Regions from separate parts of the Homo sapiens genome. Here region 1 is linked to region 2. The links are contacts of gene promoters, found by promoter capture Hi-C in blood cells and fetal thymus (Javierre and others, 2016). All regions are on one chromosome and are shown on one strand. The core of a region is centred on a gene start or on the middle of the fragment in contact, and the rest is flanking DNA. Distances in the headings are between cores, read along the strand shown. Region 1 holds the start of ELF5 (E74 like ETS transcription factor 5). Region 2 overlaps PAMR1 (peptidase domain containing associated with muscle regeneration 1).

Region 1 (7,104 bases), core at 4,484-6,983, 960 kb after region 2:
CTATTCCTTGAAGGCCACAACTAGGTCTTACTCTTTTTCACATCCCTCTTATTGATATTAAATACTGCCCTATTGGGTTTTTTATTGTTGTATTTATCAAATTCACATTTTAACATTTCTGAAATCAGGACAAGCTTTATTATCTATCTGCATATTTAACATAGCGCTTCCTCTAAGACAATTGTTTAAGTCGATGACGTATCTTATAACCAACAACATCTTAGCATTAAGTCTTGTTTGACTGATGAGGCTAGATCTGCGTGGATCCAGCATCACTTCTCACCTCCCATGCTCCATCTTCACATCCTTCCACTCCCATCTTTTGACCAAGGACATGCCTACGGGTGACAGTCAGCAGGAGTGAGGTGTTTAGTCTAGAGCTATGGAAGCCAATGTGTGTGGTCACACATGTTATCAAGCTGCATGTGCGATCATTCACACTGGACAGGTGAGGAAACAGGTTCAGAAAGTTACCTTCTCTCAGCAAGTCCAGTGTTCGCTTGCCTGCAAAAAGAGTAAGTGTTTAATAATTGTATGATTGATAATCTATTGATAACCTTCATTAGCATGAATCCCAGATTCGTCAAGCTAATTAGCCTGATCGAGAGGGACCACCCCATTCACTACCCAAGATTCCAATGGCAACACTGTTAGCCCAGTCCGTCCTCTAACAACAGTATGGGCTGGCCACAGGAGTCGTCCATTCCTCAGACTACCATCCCAAACAACTCTCTCAGAAAGCACACCTCATGTCTGCCACTTCCTATGTGTGGTAGGAAAACATCTAAAGAAAATCCTGTCTTCAGGAATCCTTCCTATGAGAAGGGTCCTCTTGGCTGTGCCTCTCAGATCTGTGCTTTTATAGAGGCATTATGGCTTCAGATTCACGGGGCTTACCCAAAATGTAGAAACCTCTAATAGATTGACTTCCAGTGTCTTTACTGGAAGAAGAAAGACCAGCAATATGGTCATGCAGTTGCATCAACTATTTCACAAACATTATCATAATTAAACCTATAACTATAAAATCATATTTTTGTTACAGATTTTAATGAAATCAAATTCTGTCATTTTATATTACAATATTCCCCATTGACTTTGCCATTGTTTAACCTCCAGGGTGCCTTCAGTACTGGAAATAACAGAGACCTTTACTGTCCTGAGGCTCATAGCCAAGGAAGGGTTATTAAGAGGGCCACCTAACTGTTGCTTCGATTGAATCGGGGCTTCTGGTCAGGAAGATGGTAGCATGAACAGCTAAAGAGTGAGTTGGATGTAGGAGGATGAGGGAAAACACCCAAAGAGGAAACAAAGCAAAGAAAGAAATCTGACCAATCAATCAACCAATTGACAATCAACGAATGAGAATTGCTTAAGCACCTACTTTTGCACAAGTCTGTGCAAGGCATTTGGGGGGACAAAAGATTCATGACTCTTGTCCTTGCTTTCAAGGATCCTACCAGCAATTTGGGATGTTTAAGAAAATTGGTATCTCTTCAACTTAGATTCTGCCTCACCGAGAGGTACCAAATGGTAGCATAATGGTAAAGCTTGTGGACTCTGGTGCATAGGCTCCATATATGGTGCATTGGTGTATCCTGCAGAGGCTCCAGTACTGCTTTAAGCTTCATGTGCTATGTGATATTGGGCAAGTTACTTCAACTCTCTATCCCTGTTTCCTCATCAGTAAATTTTAGGTGATAATAATGGTACCTACCTCGGAGGAATGATATAAGGATTAAATGACTTAATACCTGTAGCATGCCTAGACAGTTCTTTGCACCCGGTAAATGCTCAGCAAATGGTAGCTATTATGATTATTCATTGTGGAAGAGGAAGGGCAACATTATCCTACTTGTTATGGTAATGCCCAAAGGTTGGGGCTCTCAACCAATATCTGTGTCTCTCTCTATAGCCCATTACAATAACTGCCATTTATTGAAATTTACCATGCACCAAGAATCATAGTAGTAGATACTTCACTGGTGAGGAAATTGTGACCCTGAAAAGCTGATAGCTCATCTAATGTCTCCCAGGTGGCAGGTGCTAGGAGTTTGTTGTTATATACACCCACTGACAGAAATCTTTTTGTTCCCAAATATTTGAGCCAATAGAGCATAGAAAATTGCATTTTCTCCAACAGACTCTTTTCTAAAAATAATATGAGAATAATAGTGACAGGGGTCTAATCCAAAGCCAGTGCATTTCACCATCACACTGTAAATCTCTCCTTCCAATGGTATTATCTGTGAATTTACCTAAACTTGTTTTTCTAACTCGCTTTTGTTTTCAGCCTGTGCTGCCTCTTGGGATGGTGGTGAAGTTGGCAGGTTGAGGGAAAAAATAAATGACAAAGAAATGTTCACCTTGGTTAAAGAAAGCAAGTTCTAGGAAAAGCATCTGAGATGTGAAGCCTGTTATATGTAGTGAAAAGAATAGGATGGAAGCCTCCAGCCTCTGTCAGATGGTATGCCCTTTAAGTCACATGATTTTATGATCCATGTAGGTATTGAGTGCGTTCTTGATCCCAAGAACGATACTAGGCACCAGATTCAGTGAGGTACCAGAATTTCCACTCTATACTAACAGAAAGATTGTGCCAGCAATAACCATGAATCCTAGAAATCTTGAGCCAACAGAGACAGATGGGCCACCTTTTAGGCCAGTGTTGAGGCCAGAGCAAAAGAAGAGAGGCCAACTTAAGCTCCTGTTTCCACAGCTTGCCTTTAACATTGGTCAGGCCTGAGTTCAGTGCAGGTTTGGCCACTGACCAACTGGGTGAGCCTCAGCAATCATGGCACCTCTGTTTCTTTGTCTTAAAAAAGAAAATAGTGATAGCTACCTCCCACGATAATTGTGAAAAATTACCAAGGAAATACAAGTGAGTCATCCCAGCACAATACTTGGTACATCATAGATGCTCTTTAGGTGTGATTCTCTCCTCCCTATCCGCAAAGAACTGCCCCAGGAGCACCCAGAAACTGATTAGCACAACAGTTAAGAGGATGGGCTCCAGAGGCAGGCAGCCTAGACTAAAATACTTGCTCTACCACTTAGCTGTGTGACCGTGAACAAGTTACTTAACCTCTCTGTGCCTCAGTTTCCTCATCTGTAAATTAGAGATGATCAGTAACTTCCTTGTCGAATATGTATGAAAATTTAATGTAAGGAATATAACAGGTCAAAATGTAAATAAGCCACACTTAGTTAGGGCTCCTTCTACTCCCCAAGTTTTCACTCATTTAATTCACACAACAACCCTACAGGAAATGTATTCCTTTTTTCCCATTTTACAGATGAGGCAACTGGGATGCAGAGATGTTCAATAGGCTTCCCAGACTCACCCAGACAGCAAATGGCAGATCAGAGATTCAAACTTGGGAAGTCTCCTTCCAGAATCTGTTTTCTTAGCCACTACGTTACAATTATAAGCCCAATTGGTGTTACTTAATATTGCTGTATAGCCAGGACACCAGAAGCAGGATAGGCTGGGAGTTCTAAAATGTCTCATTCCTTCTTCTGCCCCCTCCCTCCACCCTAGTCCTTTTACCTTCCTCTTCCATCCCCAGTCCCCATTCTTGTTGTCATTCAACACTCATAATGAAGTTCTTAGATGCTTCATGTTCAATATCATCCAAGATCTCCATTCCAATCAAATTTAAGTTTAAAGTGATAGTTACACTTAATTAGAGTCAAATTCTTCTTTTATTTTGGGTTTATCTTAATCATCCCTTTTATCCACTGATCCAGAAGCCTGCAATTTCACACACGGGCACCCAGAAATGCTATATTATTCATTTGGGACCGTGAGACAAACAGAGTTCATGGTCTTGTACATCCATTGTCAGAAGACTTTTATACTCAAATAATTGAGTCAGTTGGGCAGCCACAGCCCCTGGGGAAAAAATTGAGCCAAAAGAGTATAGAAAAAATATAATTTCTCCAAAAGACTCTTTTTTTTTTTTGAGATGGAGTCTCACTCTGTTGCCTCGGCTGGAGCGCAATGGCGTTATCTCGGCTCACTGCAACCTCCGCCTCCTGGGTTCAAGCGATTCTCCTGCCTCAGCCTCCTGAGTAGCTGGGATTACAGATGTGCACCACCACGCCCAGCTAATTTTTGTATTTTTAATAGAGATGGGGTTTCACCAGGTTGGCCAGGCTGGTCTTGAACTCCTGACCTCATGATCTGCTTGCCTCGGCCTCCCAAAGTGCTGGGATTACAGGCATGAGCCACTGCGCCCAGCCCAAAAGACTCTTTCTAAAAACAGTATCAGAATAACATGTTTTCCCTAAAAACCTCTCCACTGAGAAGAATGTATATGTTCAGAAAGAAACACTGGTAACATTTCAGAAATCAATGACAAGATAGGCCAGTGCCCAACAATGGAAAACACAGTGTGTGGGACTATCACAGTGCACAGTCCCCTAGAAACCAAAGAGGAAGAGAAGTACAGAATTTTAAAGCTTGAAAGAGGCCCAAAGACCATGTAATCCAGTTACTTGCAAACCCTTTCTAAGGGCAGATTCTTTTGTTCAAATGAAATCTTACCCGGAAGATTTATATAAAAGCTGAGATGCTCTTATTGAGTCAGGAAGGAACGGGGTGGTCTAGAGCCTAACCCACTCTACTCCACTCCCATCCTCTCACCCGCAAAAGTCCTTGTAAGGGCTCCAGGGAGCCCCTGGGGTTCCTCAAGTCACAGTTTGAAAAAAATCACTATTTCAATCCCACTTCCTCCTTTTGCCACTGGGGAAAAATGAAGCCCAGAGAAGTCCAGGTTACCCAGCCAAGATAGGGGTCTAGGCAGTCACCTATCTTCCTTCAACAATTTTTCCATGATGACACCCCGAATCCTCTCACGAACTGCCTTTTGTTTCTGCAGACTATATGCGTATTTGTATTTGTGTGTTTGTAACCATGCCCGGTGATCCCAAGAAAACATAACAAACCAGTCCTTGCTTTCGCTTTAAAGCTTGGAGTCTGCCATTTGAATACAACATCTCGGCTGCCCAAGATGGCTAGAAGCAGAATGCAAAAAGGCACAGGGTTATAAATACCTGTCTCATAGATGACCTGGGACACTGTGCTTTGCAGCCTAAATTAGGCAGAGTTTCTGTTGTCACGAAGAAGTACTAAAAAGCGGGCAGTTCTCAGCGAGACACCTGAGAGCTGGCATCCACATGAGGAGAGGCCCCATCACTTACATTACACTCATGAAGCCCAGAGATGTTAGCTACATTTTTCTAGGTAGCACAGCTAGGAAATGATGGACACTGAATTTGAATCTAAAGGCAACTAGCTGCAAAACCTGAGGTCTTAACACTGGGCCTATAATGCTCTTCCTTCTCACCACATGGGAAAAACGGAGAAAGACATGATCTTACAAAAGCACTGGGCTCAGCCAGCCTGGGAGAGAGGCAGCGCAGACCGGCACCAGGGTGGAATCTCTGTGTTTCCCCTCCAGCTTGCACAGAGGAAAATTCCTCACCAAACGCACGATCCCCGCACAGCTCCCAGGGACAAGAATTTTCTGCTTGTTTACTGAGTCCCCTGGGCTGGGAGTGGGGGGTTGCAGGGCAGGGGTGAGCTGCGCACAAAAGCAGGATAAAGGTAAACTTTCTGCATATGAGAACCATTTCCCCCCCTCCAAGGAGCCGTGTCACACTGTATGTCACCGTCATCAAAGGGGCTGTGCGTAAACCTGAAAAACCAAACGGACCTGTCTGTAGGTGTCACTTATATCACAAGGCTACAGGTGTCTTTATTTCCACTGCACGCTGGTGCTGGGAGCGCCTGCCTTCTCTTGCCTTGAAAGCCTCCTCTTTGGACCTAGCCACCGCTGCCCTCACGTAAGCGCCTTTTCTTTGCTTTTTTGGATGAATCGTAAGGGGTGTCAGGGCTCAGAGGCTCGGCCTGGGGCCTGGGTCTGCTCGTCCATCTCCAGCTCCAGGGCCGGCACCTGCGCTGGGTGCAGTCCCAGGGCCTCCGGGAGCTGTTTGACACGGATGTGACGGCTTGCCTCAGAGAGACCTGCTTGCCTCCGCAGGCCGTGTGGCCACCAGCCCTCCTCACAGCCACCACTCCCTCTGGATCCCTTAGCTGAACCAAGGGGAATTAAGAGAACGCGCCCAGGCGCTCAGTTCTCTATCCTCCCTAAAGCTTCTTTAGGAAGGGAAGCTGGATTTTACTCAGAAAAATATTCAGCTTCAAGGAAAGCCCCCCACCTACCCTTCTCCCCTGACTGAATTCCTTTCCCCACCGGCCTGCCCACTGTCCCCCACCCCCTCGATACAGAGAACTCCCTTATTATAGTTTGGGGCATTTTCAGGAATTTGTACAAAACAGTTTTAAAAGAAACCCATTTGCCCTCTGACATCTCCCCAGAAGAGAATGCTTCCAGAAAAGCAATGGTTAGCGTTTTTCCACTGTGTTCTCAGGCCTTGTCAGACTCTGCAGTGTGTGGGGTTTCTGTGGGGTTGCCCCCTGCTGACAGCGACAGGTAGCACAAGCTCCCTCCTCAGGCTGAAGCCGGGCCTGCGTGTGGATGCCTTTTGTACGCCCGAAAGTGTGTCAGACATCACTAGGTGCAATCGCTTCATGTTACAGATGAGGAAACTGAGGCCAGAAAGGCTAGATGACTTAGGGAGGCAGCTCTGTGGTTCAGTCTAGTCCAGAGACCCAGGGAAAGGGGTGGTTTGCCCATCCGAGTGAACGCTTGATTCTGTTGTCTTCGTGTTCTCTGCAATACTGTTTTTCATAATCTAAGGTATTCTCGGGCCGGAGTTTTCAGTTTGGTCATCTCCCTTTTTCAGAAGTCACCAGAGTGGCAAATTTTTAGATACATTGTTGATGGCTGATTTTTCCCTCTAAAACAGGATTGAATATATGTATTATGCCCCGTCCTTTGCATATATCGGATTGCATGATTTAAAAAAAAAAAAATCCCCATTTTAGAGATGAGGAAACCGTAGTTCGAAGAGGGGCATGAATATTTATATACCACATCTATATGAAAAAAAGCTTAAGAATTTCAGCAGTCTGGGTAGTAAGAAATGTGCCCCACGTTCGCAGCAGCAGAGGTAGGATTTAACCCCTGATATATG
Region 2 (7,229 bases), core at 381-2,880:
TCGTTGCCTAGAAGATAATTACCTTCTGATTCTTCCATCAAACGGAAGAGTGTGCAGAGGTTTTTTTTGTTGTTGTTGTTGTTTTCCCCTTTACTTAGTCTTGCAAAACAATATGAGCTTTTTTTCATTCTCCAACTATAAAATTACAATAAAGTATCCATTCAGTCGTATATTTGGCAATATCTGTAGCATCTCCATAGGCCAGGCACTGCGCTGGACACTGTGAAAACTGTGGAACGAGGCAGGTGTTCCTCTCTGCCTTCAAGTTACTTGCAGGCCAGTGGAGAAGACAGGCCACACATAGACACACAAAAAGTCAAGGAGGTAAATATAAGAGGTTGAAATTTATGTCTACAGTATGAGAAAAATAAGGGATCTTCTTTGGAAAGAGTGGTCAGGGAAGCCTCTTTGAGGAGAGAATATTTAAGCTTAGGCCTGAGGATAGGAAGGAACCAGCCACACAGACTGGGAGGAAAAAGTGCCCTGGAAAAGAGACCAACACATGCAAAGAGTCTCTGCATGGATTATGGCACCTTGCTCCACCTGGGCAGGCACTTGCATGTGCACATACATGCAAACAGTGCACAAATACATACTCCTCTGCTAAGAGAAATTCGCCAACCTCTGAGGACCATTTTCCTATCCGATCAGGCCAGTGACACCATCTGTTCCTCAGGCCTGTTCCTCATCTGGCCTTGAATGAGCCCAGCGGTCTCAGGACTGTCCAGGGCCCATCTGCTTCCCTCCGTCACCCTGTCCACCCACAGATTTGTCATGTTGAGCCTGGAGTTTGACTACATGTGCCAGTATGACTATGTTGAGGTTCGTGATGGAGACAACCGCGATGGCCAGATCATCAAGCGTGTCTGTGGCAACGAGCGGCCAGCTCCTATCCAGAGCATAGGATCCTCACTCCACGTCCTCTTCCACTCCGATGGCTCCAAGAATTTTGACGGTTTCCATGCCATTTATGAGGAGATCACAGGTAAAGGCCAAGGAGACAAATGTGGCATTTTATGGCTTGCTCCAGATAAATATCTCCTTTCCATGTCCCTTCCTTTCTTCCTCTCATCCTTATTAAAACCTAGTAGGCTGTGTTCTTAGAAACAGCCTACACACTGAGAAAAAAGAAATAGCAAGGTATATTTCAGAAAAACTCACTCAGAACCAGAACTAGGAATGATCTCCCTTATACAAATGGCAGTGGCTAAAGCACGGAGAGGCTGAATGACTTGTCCAAGGTCACACAGATATAGGGGCAGAACTAGGGATTTGTACCCAAGCTGTTCGGCTCTAGAGCTCACACAGGGTGACCTCTCATGGTTGGGAGCATTGGCTTTAAATCCCTGACAGATCAAGCTATGTGACCTTGGGTAAGTTCTTCTACCCCACTGGGCCTCTGTTTCCTAATGAGTGATAAGGGAGTAATAGTAGATCCTTCTCCATTAAGGAGGCTCTGAGAGACAGAACAAATGGAGAGCTTGGCATAGTCTGGTACATAGTAAGAATTCAACAGCTGCCCAACCCTAGGCATACATTTACCCTCCACTTGCCACCTATAAAATAGGTATTAAAAGACTATAATGGTAAATGTCATTGACTTGATGAGTAACTTTAAGCCTGACTGTAACTCTTGCTGTGATCATATTAGGAAGTAGGATTTGACCAAACTGAACAAAATGCTTAATCCTAAGCAATCACCCCACTCTCATCGTTCTGAGATCAGATTGCATCAGGTTTTACAAAATAAACACAGGCTTGAAGTTTGATTTAAAAAAAAAAACTGAATTAAAAAAGAACTCGTAATGGTATTCTGATCATTAAGACTTCCTTATTCATAGGGTATGACATGAAAGTCTCAGGAAAGAAGGTGGGTGGCTGAATAATCAGTGTTTCTTCAGTCCTGTCTGTTCAGCAAGGCCAGGAGACCCTGCTCCCCGGTCTACCCCTCTTTTAGGAGGCTGCCTACAGGAACTCTCAGCAGGTGCTCTCTACAGTCTCTGTGCCTGCCCCCTGTGGAGCTGTGCAGGGCCTGGGAGTTCTGATGCTTTGCTGCTGTGGTGTGATCAGCCTGTGGCTGAATCCTCTTCCCTTGGTGACACCCTGCAGGTATAGGCTGAGCAACGTCCCACATGAGATGTGTCTGTGGGGGCTTAGGACAGTCAGCAAGCCAGGTAGGGGCAGCAGTGGCTGGCCAGTCTGTGAATCTGGGACTGAGGGACGGTCAGGAGAATGTCTTGCTCCTCTGAAATGACCTCCTCAACCTCCCCTGGAGAACTTTGGCAATACTGGCCTGTGTTTTATCAATGCCGTCAAATAATACCACTTCCCATTTTTCAAACATCCCTGTTTGTTCACTTGCCTTCAAGATATTTCCTCTGGCTAAAGTCACCTGTCTGCAACCTGCACATCAAAATCCATCCTTCATAGCCCCTACTACATTCTTCCTCCTCTCCTAAATCTTTTCTCTTGCTCCAACAAGCTATGGCTTTGCCCTTTTTTGAATGTCTTGTAGCATTGCCTCTTCTTTCTTCGTAATACACTAACTATATTATGCTTCAAGTCATAGTCGTTTTATATTTTTCTTCAAGTAGTTTTAATCTGGTAAATAGGACATCCTGTTCTTCCTTGTATTTCTCCCTTGTCATGTTTTGAGCAAGTACTCAAGACAGGTTTGTTGAACTGAGCCAAGGAATATACTTCTACATTGGGATAAATGAATGTAGGATTGATGGATAACACACAGATGAATGTTTCTCAAAATCTTTTCTGTAGAAAAATAGTCCCCAGGATGCCTTGTAAAATGCAGGCTTTGAGGTCAAATAAGCTTGAAATTCACAATGTATATTAGGAAACTCACAATGTATATTGGGGCATTGAACTGAGAAGTTCTGCAGTAAAGAAATCTGGTTAATTAGCATTGAATGTCAGCAACATTTCCCTAACATATTTGAGCTCAGAACCCTTAGTAAAACACATCAACATCTCAAGGGACTAATGATTACAGAATGTAAGTTTGGAAATTATTGAATATACCTTCAACAGTGTCATAATGATTGTCTTCCAGTTGCATTGCCCCAGTACCCAGGATGGTGAGCTTTTATTTGAAAAAAGATGGTCTTCAGCTACCCAAGGATGTCTCTGTCCGCTGAAACCCCTATGGGAGAGATACAAGCATGGCTCTGCTTTCATCAATTTAATGTTCTTGTTTGCATTGCCTTGTGGTCTTCAGACTATAGGAGCGTTAAGCATACTTCTGGGGCCCTCAAAAACATCAAATAATATCACCAACATTTGATATTTAATGAGTATCTATTTTAGGCATTTTCAAATAATCATAACATGAATTCAGTAAAGGGAAGAAAAAACATTGCAAGAAGACTTTAATAAGGAATTAAAAGACTTTGGTCAAGACTCTGGGCCTGAAGACATCGACTCAATGTATAGTGGCACTGAAGGATGCCTTTTCTCTTACAGCATGCTCCTCATCCCCTTGTTTCCATGACGGCACGTGCGTCCTTGACAAGGCTGGATCTTACAAGTGTGCCTGCTTGGCAGGCTATACTGGGCAGCGCTGTGAAAATCGTGAGTATGCTTCCTAAGTGGGAGTTAAGGTGTCAGATGGGGCTGGTATGGAAGGATTTTAAGAGCTTGCAGGGCCAACTCTTTCTTCATGTCTAGGATGCTCTGTCCAAGATGGTGCACAGTGTGGATACTCCCAGTGAGTGATTCTCAGAGGGGCATAGCTGCTTCTGAGTCAGGTTCTCTTCAACTTCCTAGGTTTGTCTATTGACATTTCCAACCCTCACTTGCTGCAAATACCTCTTAGAAAGATACAATGGCCTCTAGTAATATTCAGAGCTCAAAAACACTGAAAAAGGTCAACAAACTTTCCTGTGGCTCAGTCTGTATCCCTGTCCATTCTAAGATCTGTATTTTAGATTTATACTCTGGCACCATTCACAGGCTCCAATGTGACTTATTGCATAACTTGAAGCCCTGCAATGAGGGTGGTAGATATACATTTTGCTGAGCAAAATTATTAATAGCATCCTCTTTCGTGAGCAAAGTGTCTTGAATTGGATGACAAACTATATGGTCATGTTTTAACACATGTCTTATATAAGGCCTTGGTTACCAGACCGAAAACAGGTGTCACAGATGGAAGCCATCAGCATGGAATGTGATGTGCATAAGGACAAGAATTTGGGGGAGAGCAAAGGAGGACAGAGAGTCTCCTAGGTAGGTTTTCCCAAAGCAGATCGTGAGTTGAGAATGTGTACACAAGTGAAGTGTTAAGGACAGGCTCCCTGGGGAAGCTTATAGGGGTGTGGGAAGCTGGCCTGGGAAGGGAAGGAGGCCAAGTAGGGGTGCGATTTCAGGCAAAATACCAACCTCAGTGTTAACCTGTCATGAGATCTGGAATGTACATTACTCCTTAGAGTAATGTTCTAGCTTTAAGGCAAGGGATCTGGGCTTTCATATGCCCACAGCAATCAGTCATTGGGTGCGGGCTGCCCTGGGGAACTGGAGGACATAAACCGTGGGCACATATGGCTTTCTATGCATGTGGGCAAAGTGGTTCCAGTAGCCCCTGAGCAGTTCCCTGAAAGAGAATCACAAGTACAGGCCATTGGAAGTAAAATACCATAGGATGGGGAGGGGAAAAGGGCCCACAGAAACACAGAAAATAGACCCGAGGGCAGAGCACCAACAATATCTACTACAGTCACTTCTAACTAGAGTGCACAGGTACTCTGTGGTCATCTAACAGCCTGGTCTGGCAGTATTCTCTAAAGTTTGTGTATGTTTTGAATTAATTTTCACTAATGTTTTCCTTTTTTTTTTTTTTTTTTTTTGAGATAGAGCCTCTCTCTGTCGCCCAGGCTAGAGTGCAGTGGCGCGATCTCGGCTCACTGCAAGCTCCGCCTCCTGGGTTCACGCCATTCTCCTGCCTCAGCCTCCCAAGTAGCTGGGACTACAGGCGCCCGCCACCACACCCGGCTAATTTTTTGTATTTTTAACAGAGACGGGTTTGCACCGTGTTAGCCAGGATGGTCTTGATCTCCTGACCTCGTGATCCACCCGCCTCGGCCTCCCAAAGTGCTGGGATTACAGGGGTGAGCCACTGCACTGGCCCAGTTTTCACTAATGTTTTCTTGCAAACAATGCAGATGGAAACCATGGTTTCAATAGTGGGTCCCTGTGTGTGCCATTGATTTCTACTAAGAGCATCCTTGCCCTGGTTTGGCACAGCTCACTTGAGTGTGACTGCTAGAGACATAGAAAATGATGTTCTGCTTCGTGGTTCTTGCCTCATTTGAGCCTGCCATGTTGTGTGCAAGGCAGACCAGAGAAATGTTGCATTCTCTTGGCTTCAAGAATTTGTATGTAGAGCGATTCTAGATTCTTGACAATAGCAAATACTGAGCTTCAGAGGAGGAAACAAAAAGAGGGAAGGCTTAATTTCTTGATGAACGAATTACACAATACTTTGATAAAAAAAAAAAAATAGAATTGGAAAGAAGTAAAACATCACCAGATAAAGCCAAAATGTCTTTAGGAAGCTGAGTCAAATTAGGAAAGAAAAATAAATTGGTCCAAAACTTATGATTAAAATATTCACAGGTAGCTTGTGAGTCAAAACAGATTCCTCAGCATTGTTATTCCATTAAGAAAATAAGAAACATAATGAAAAAAGAATGTAAAATATGTCACTATGAACTGATTCATAACTTAATTCACAAACTGTCTCAAATTACTTTAAAGCATCAGCATAGATGGGCAGGAAAATTCTACCTTGCTGGTTTTCAAAATATTGTTCAAAAGTCATAATTCCCTTAGTAACATGTAGTTATAGTGAAGTGAAGGTGTTACCAGTGGATATCCGATATGTCATTTACTGGCATCAGTATGGGGGAACTAAATGTTTTTTGTTTGTCTGTTTTCTGTAAGATCCAGGTTCATTTTTCCTTCTAGGAAATTTGGCATGAGTATCAACTAACTCACTGGGGGACACGTCACAAAAAATGGCTATGGCAGTTTATGTTATAATTTCTGAGTAAACCTTAGCAATTTTTCCAGAGCAGTCTATCAGTTAGAAAAGCAAAAAAGAGCAAAAAGATTTATTTTCTTGTTTTCCTCATGAGGATACCAACAAATTCAAAACATCCTGGCGGGAATTCTTTTGAAATTAGGAAGAAACCCAAGCATCTGGGGTTCCCCAAACTCTGAAGTGCCCAAATTAGACTAGGCTCTTTTTTTTTAATGGCTTTAAAATCAATATTAATGACCAAAATCAACATTAATGAGAAATCTTTCATTTATGCAGTGCCAAATCTGATGAGGGCAAATCATTTCACAGGTGCTGCTTTAATGTTCTCTTCAAGTCTTTGTGGAAAGGTAGATGCTCAGTTTTGCAAATGAGTGATTTGAAGCAGAGAATGCAAGACACTGGTCCCCATCAAATTCAAAACCAGAGGCCATAATTTCACATTTCCCACTTAGTTCACAATCTCTCAGACACGACACTTGCTGTATGTCTTGGTGAGACTCCAGATGCTTCACTGATGAACTCTGGTTACCATCATGTCCCATTAGCGAGTCCTCTTAAAGGACTTCCCATCCCAGTTAAAGCTCATCTGTTTCTCTTTTCCAAATAGAATTCCGATGTACAGACTCTTGATAGAAGCTATTCTCTTTATTTTCCTAATGTACGTGTATGTCTGTGAGTGGAGTGGAATAGAAGTAGATTTTCTACTTAATTGCAGAAATATATGTCAAAAAAATCAAACAGTACAGAGGTGTATAGAATAAAAAGAGAACATTGTTTTTTCCTGGCCAATCCTGGTTCCCAGTGGAAGCATTGTAAGAACTTGGAGGATATTCTTCTAGACCTTTTTTTCTGCGGTATGCAAACCTAAGTGGTCTATGTGTCATTATTTTAAATCAGTGGTTCTCAACCAGGGGTGATTTTGCTCTCCATCTCTACTCACAGGGGACATTTGGCAATGTCTGGAAACAGTGTTGGCTGTGATAATTGTAGGAGTGAGGTGGTGTGCTGCTGGCATCTAGTGGGTAGAGGCCAGTGATGCTGCTAAACATCCTACACTGCACAGGACAGGCCCCACAACAGTTATCTGGCTCAAAGATCAGTAGTGCCAAGGTTGAAAAACCTTGTTTTAAACACAAGTGAGTTAAGTATGCATACAATTTTTCAATTTATTTTC

Evidence for each region. The method cuts DNA at HindIII sites, captures the fragments that hold promoters and counts their contacts. A CHiCAGO score of 5 or more calls a contact.
Region 1: a contact is called between the fragment with the promoter of ELF5 here and a fragment that was not itself captured in region 2, in 1 of 17 cell types (naive CD8 T cells). The highest score is 5.3, in naive CD8 T cells.

The regions. Positions count from the first base shown.
Region 1 is chr11:34,512,423-34,519,526 of GRCh38, reverse strand. It overlaps ELF5 (E74 like ETS transcription factor 5), which reads left to right and starts at 5,733. Exons shown (of 7, transcript NM_001422.4): 1 at 5,733-5,850. The HindIII fragment of the contact is 1,187 bases long and covers 4,976-6,162 here.
Region 2 is chr11:35,464,357-35,471,585 of GRCh38, reverse strand. It overlaps PAMR1 (peptidase domain containing associated with muscle regeneration 1), which reads left to right. Exons shown (of 11, transcript NM_001001991.3): 5 at 768-985; 6 at 3,478-3,585. Among named protein-coding and RNA genes, the nearest start is that of SLC1A2, 48 kb to the right of the region's middle. The HindIII fragment of the contact is 2,399 bases long and covers 431-2,829 here.